Regions from separate parts of the Homo sapiens genome. Here region 1 is linked to region 2. Evidence: promoter capture Hi-C in human tissues and cell types (Jung and others, 2019). All regions are on one chromosome and are shown on one strand. Each heading gives the region's core, a stretch centred on a gene start or on the middle of the fragment in contact. The rest is flanking DNA. Distances are from core to core; before and after follow the strand shown. Region 1 overlaps STAT5B (signal transducer and activator of transcription 5B). Region 2 holds the start of KAT2A (lysine acetyltransferase 2A).

The links. The method cuts DNA at HindIII sites, captures the fragments that hold promoters and counts their contacts. A contact is called where the count stands out against the background at its distance.
Region 1: a fragment that was not itself captured here is called in contact with the fragment with the promoter of KAT2A in region 2 in 3 of the 25 tissues and cell types used here (IMR-90 fibroblasts, mesendoderm cells and thymus).

The regions. Positions count from the first base shown.
Region 1 is chr17:42,211,265-42,213,964 of GRCh38, reverse strand. STAT5B (signal transducer and activator of transcription 5B) reads left to right here. Exons shown (of 19, transcript NM_012448.4): 13 at 1,775-1,981. Among named protein-coding and RNA genes, the nearest start is that of GHDC, 18 kb to the right of the region's middle. The HindIII fragment of the contact is 7,783 bases long and covers 1-2,700 here.
Region 2 is chr17:42,120,117-42,122,816 of GRCh38, reverse strand. It overlaps KAT2A (lysine acetyltransferase 2A), which reads left to right and starts at 1,450. Exons shown (of 18, transcript NM_021078.3): 1 at 1,450-1,851; 2 at 1,988-2,111; 3 at 2,447-2,592; 4 at 2,698-2,700. The coding sequence starts at 1,513. HSPB9 (heat shock protein family B (small) member 9) reads right to left here and starts at 13. Exons shown (of 1, transcript NM_033194.3): 1 at 1-13. RefSeq lists a silencer at 1,334-1,583. The HindIII fragment of the contact is 6,206 bases long and covers 1-2,002 here.

The sequences.
Region 1 (2,700 bases), core at 1-2,500, 91 kb before region 2:
TCACCATGTTGGCCAGGCTGGTCTCGAATTCTTGACCTCAAGTGATCCACCCACCTCGGCCTCCCAAAGTGCTGGGATTATAGGCATGAGCCACTGCACCCAGCCGACCTTATGCTATGTTAAAAAAAAGACTTTCAGCTGGGCACGGTGGCTCACACCTGTAATCCCAGCACTTTGGGAGGCCGAGGTGGGTGGATCATTTGAGGTCAGGAATTCGAGACCAGCTTGGCCAACATGGTGAGACTCTCATCTCTACTAAAAATACAAAAATTAGCTGGGCGTGGTGGTGCGTGCCTATGATCCCAGCTACTCGGGAGGCTGAGGCAGGAGAATTGCTTGAACCTGGGAGGCAGAGGTTGTAGTGACCTGAGATGGTGCCACTGCACTCCAGCCTGGGCAACACAGTGAGACTCTGTCTCAAAAAAATAAAAAATAAAAAATAAATAATAAAGACTTGTGGCCAGGCACAGTGGTTTATGCCTGCAATCCCAGCACTTTGGGAGGCCAAGGCAAGCGGATCTCTTGAGCCCAGGAATTTGAGGCCAGCCTTGTCAACATAGCAAAACCCTGTCTCTACAAAAAACACACAAATTAGCCAGGCATGGTGGTGCACGCCTGTAGTCCCAGCTGTTTGGGAGGCTGAGGTAGGATAATTACTTGAGCTAAGGAGGCAGAAGTTGCAATGAGCCAAGATTGGGCCACTGTACTCCAGCCTGGATGACAGAGCGAGACCTTACCTAAAAAAAAAAATAATTGTGGAAATTTATTCTCCATATATATTTGCCTATGTGTCCTGTGGGTCAAATAACATAAGAACATTGCAGCATTGTTAGTAATAGCTAAAGATGAGGCTGTAACACTGATGCCCATCTATGGGGGTCTGGTGAAATTTCTTTATGTGCTGATGGGAGGTCTCCCAGATAGAGGATTAAGTGAAAAGAGGAAGATGCAGAACATGTGGATTTTGTGCTGTCATTTGTGAAGAAAAGGAAAAGGTATATGTCATTGCTGGCATGCATAGAATATCTTTGGTGGGATACACAAGAAACTGTGTTAGGTGCCTTTAAAGAAAAGAACTGGGTTGCTGGGAGACAGGGATAGGGAGTGACTTCACTGTGTAGCCGTCTGTGCTTTTTGAATTTTAAATCATGTGAAAATCACCTATTGAAAAAAGTGTTTGTAACAAAATAAAATGGAGTACTATGGCTGAACGGGTTGAAAAGCAGTTTATTAAAAGTTAATCTTCTAACCTATTTCTCAATAAAGCCATCCAACTCAAAATTTCCACTCTTCCATACCAAGTTGTTTTACTTTGAGCTAGAATTCTTGGCAGAAGGAGTCGAGGGCAATGATTCCACGTGTGTACACACATGCCGACACGTGTGCACACATACGCACACTCTCTCTGTTTGTACCTAGAGGACCAGTCTTTCAGATTTCTAAATTCCCAAGGTGTTTACAATCTAAGAGCCAGACCTTGGTTATGTTTTGGTTTGTGGCCGTTAGAACATAGGATTTGACTGTTAGTTCAGCAGCTCATTTACAAAACAGCATGGATAGCATGGGTTACCTTCTAGTTGTGTGTAAAGAAGGTGAAACGGAACCTTCTGAATTTCACAGAACCGTGTACCCCAGCAGAGTCTGAATTTATCCTCAGGCCCTGCAAGACAAATGTGTGTAACCACTCCCAGCCATCAGCGTTTTTCTTTTGTGGCTTGAGGGAATAAATCATGCAACTGTTTTCTCATCAGATTCTGGCCTCTCTCCCTCTCAGGGCAGGGTGCCATTTGCCGTGCCTGACAAAGTGCTGTGGCCACAGCTGTGTGAGGCGCTCAACATGAAATTCAAGGCCGAAGTGCAGAGCAACCGGGGCCTGACCAAGGAGAACCTCGTGTTCCTGGCGCAGAAACTGTTCAACAACAGCAGCAGCCACCTGGAGGACTACAGTGGCCTGTCTGTGTCCTGGTCCCAGTTCAACAGGGTGAGGAGCCCAGCTGCCAGCCGCTGTTAGATCAGTCCTTCCCAACCAGATGCTCTCAGGAGTCTCCCTGCCCTGGGCCCTTATTCTTCATGTCTCTAATAAAATGTACCGAAAGTAATAGAAGCTTCTGACTAGATGGACAACTTGAGAGTTACCCAGGTCACGTGTAGAAAATTACATCTTTGCATATTTTAAATAAGTTGACCTTTGTCTACAGTTAATGCATTTTCTTCCTTTGTAAAGGAAATAGAGCAAAGCAGATGTTAACATAGCTCATGAGAAGCAAAGCTTTTGAGGGGATGCGAACTCTGGGCCTCTCTCCCCTTTACTCTCTTATGTTCCCCATGTGTAATGCCAGATCAGGCTCCTATGGGACCCTCAACCCACAAAGAGGGATGCTGATGAAAGAAACTCCTCCTCTAGCATCTGCTAATTCAGACGTCACTTTGATTTTATTTTTATTCATTTTTTTTTTTTGAGACAGAGTTTCGCTCTTGTTGCCCAGGCTGGACTGCAATGGCACGATCTTGGCTCACCGCAACCGCCGCCTCCTGGTTTCAAGCGATTCTCCTGCCTCAGCCTCCCGAGTAGCTGGGATTACAGGCATGCGGCACCACGCCCCGCAATTTTGTATTTTTAGTGGAGACGGGGTTTCTCCATGTTGGTCAGGCTGGTCTCGAACTCCCGACCTCAGGTGATCTGCCCGCCTCGGCCTCCCA
Region 2 (2,700 bases), core at 201-2,700:
AGGCTCCCAGCGCAGAGCTAGGCGCACGGACGCCCGGAGAGGAGGGACCTCGCGCGGCCTACCCGAGCTCAGCTCCGCTCGCTCGGTTCCCTTCGCTTCTGCAAACGCAGGCGGAGTTCGGGATCAGCCACGCCCATCTTACCTCCAAGAGCCAGACTGTCAGCGCCCTGGCGCGCCCGCAGCTGCTCTCCTCCCAGACTCCGACCCTTTCTCCGCCCTTCCCCACCTTCGTTAATGGACCCGGGGAGGCCGCAGCTGTGAAGGAACTGGATCCACGACCAGGCCAGACCCGAGGGAGCCGCACCCTGGCGCAGCCAACAGCAGATTGATCCCCCAGCTGGAAGGGGGCTGTCTTGCCTTCTAAGGACCAGGCCTGGGGCAAGGATTGTTCCTAGACAGAGCCAGGGGAGGGCGGCCTTCCTGGGTCATCCACCCTACCTCTCCCTGACCACCCACAACCCCACGCGGACACGCGACACGAGGAGGTGGACTGGTCTCTCCGGCTGCATTAATTCTTCCCGGGGCGTCCTGTGCTGCAGGCTGTGGTCTGGGCTCTGGGGCCACAAAGATGAAGACGCAGTTGGGGCTTCAGGAGAGTGGCTCCCAGTGCACAGAGAAAGACCTAGCCCTCCTCCGCCTCACCCTCCACGTCAGTAGCCTTCTTGGTGACCATCATAACCACAGCTATGCCTCTGGTGCTGTTATTTGATAATTTTTTTTTTTTAAGAGACAGGGTATCATTATGTTGCCCAGGTTAATCTCGAACTCCTGGGCTCAAGCGATCCTCCCATCTCGGCCTCCCAAAGTGCTGAGATTACAGGCGTGAGCCACCTCGCCCAGCCTATAAACTTTATTTTTTATTTTTTTGTAGAGATTGGTGGGGGGGGTCTCCCAATGTTGCCCAGCCTGGTCTCGAACTCCTGCAGGGCTCAAGCTCTCCTCCCGCGTGAGCCAGCCACCCGGCCTGATAAACTCCTTTTTGTTGAGTGATACTATTAAATACATACATACTGAAAAGCGCAGAAAAAGGTGCAGGTGAATGTCAGGAGGAGAACACACCCAAGTCACCACCACACTACTGCAGAACTGTTGCTACATCTCATCTCTACCGCAGCTGCAATTCCGTGTCCGGAGCCGCGTGGGGCAGGGCCTGTGCGGGAGTTGGGGGAGGGGGTTAAGTGGGAGACAGGCGCGTGAAAGAGGCAGACCCCACGATTCTCCCCAAGACTCCTTGTCCCCAAGAGGACAGCCATCGTGACTCTCCCGGACTCCATTAAAAGAGATTACAAGTGAAGAGGGGTCAATGTGGGGCCTTCACTCAGGCCTCACTTGGCTGTCAGGGGCCAAGAGACAGGACAGAAAAGTCTGGAAGCTGGAGGCAGTGAGGGGAAGGCGCGGGAAGACTACAACTCCCGTCATGCGCCGCGCAGCAACGCCTGCGCACTGAGCGCTGGTTGCCCATGCGGCCCTAGGGCTGGGAGCGCGGCGCCGCTCTCCGCTGCGGGGGAGGCCATGGCGGAACCTTCCCAGGCCCCGACCCCGGCCCCGGCTGCGCAGCCCCGGCCCCTTCAGTCCCCAGCCCCTGCCCCAACTCCGACTCCTGCACCCAGCCCGGCTTCAGCCCCGATTCCGACTCCCACCCCGGCACCAGCCCCTGCCCCAGCTGCAGCCCCAGCCGGCAGCACAGGGACTGGGGGGCCCGGGGTAGGAAGTGGGGGGGCCGGGAGCGGGGGGGATCCGGCTCGACCTGGCCTGAGCCAGCAGCAGCGCGCCAGTCAGAGGAAGGCGCAAGTCCGGGGGCTGCCGCGCGCCAAGAAGCTTGAGAAGCTAGGGGTCTTCTCGGCTTGCAAGGTGGGGGCGGGGCCTGGGGTGAAGGGGCGGGGCTTGGGGCATCCCAGGGCTCTGGTGGGAATGGGGTCAAAGCTCTGGCTGCGGAGCGGCTCTTGCCCCAGAGGTATAGGTCATTGACTGATCCTTCCACCTCCAGGCCAATGAAACCTGTAAGTGTAATGGCTGGAAAAACCCCAAGCCCCCCACTGCACCCCGCATGGATCTGCAGCAGCCAGCTGCCAACCTGAGTGAGCTGTGCCGCAGTTGTGAGCACCCCTTGGGTAAGGCAGGCAGCGCCCTTGGAGCTGGGGGCAGGTGCTGGGTCCTGCTTGGACAGGGTGACAAGTGCCACAAAGCTTCATCTCTGAAAAAATCAAAGATGCCTCGAAGGAGGGATTGGGTTGGGGGGGGGTGTGCACCAAGGGGGGAGAAAGGAAATCTCTCAGCCCAGAACAGGCCCAGGCAACCCAACGGTTGATATCGGAGCAGTCAGTCTCACTGTTGGTCACACTGGTTGGAGGAACAGAGTGTGTATCTTGCTTGGCTGTGAAGAGGGTCAAGAAGCCTTGTTGATTTCTTCTATCAATTTTTCCTAACTCTGCCATCTGTCTTGCAGCTGACCACGTATCCCACTTGGAGAATGTGTCAGAGGATGAGATAAACCGACTGCTGGGGATGGTGGTGGATGTGGAGAATCTCTTCATGTCTGTTCACAAGGAAGAGGACACAGACACCAAGCAGGTCTATTTCTACCTCTTCAAGGTGAGCTTCCACTAAAGGAGGGTGTGAGTGAAGGAGGTGGGGCCTTGAGGGGTTGTCTGCAGCTCTGCCCCCCTCCCCTCTATGCCCCCTTCCTCTTCTCTCTAGCTA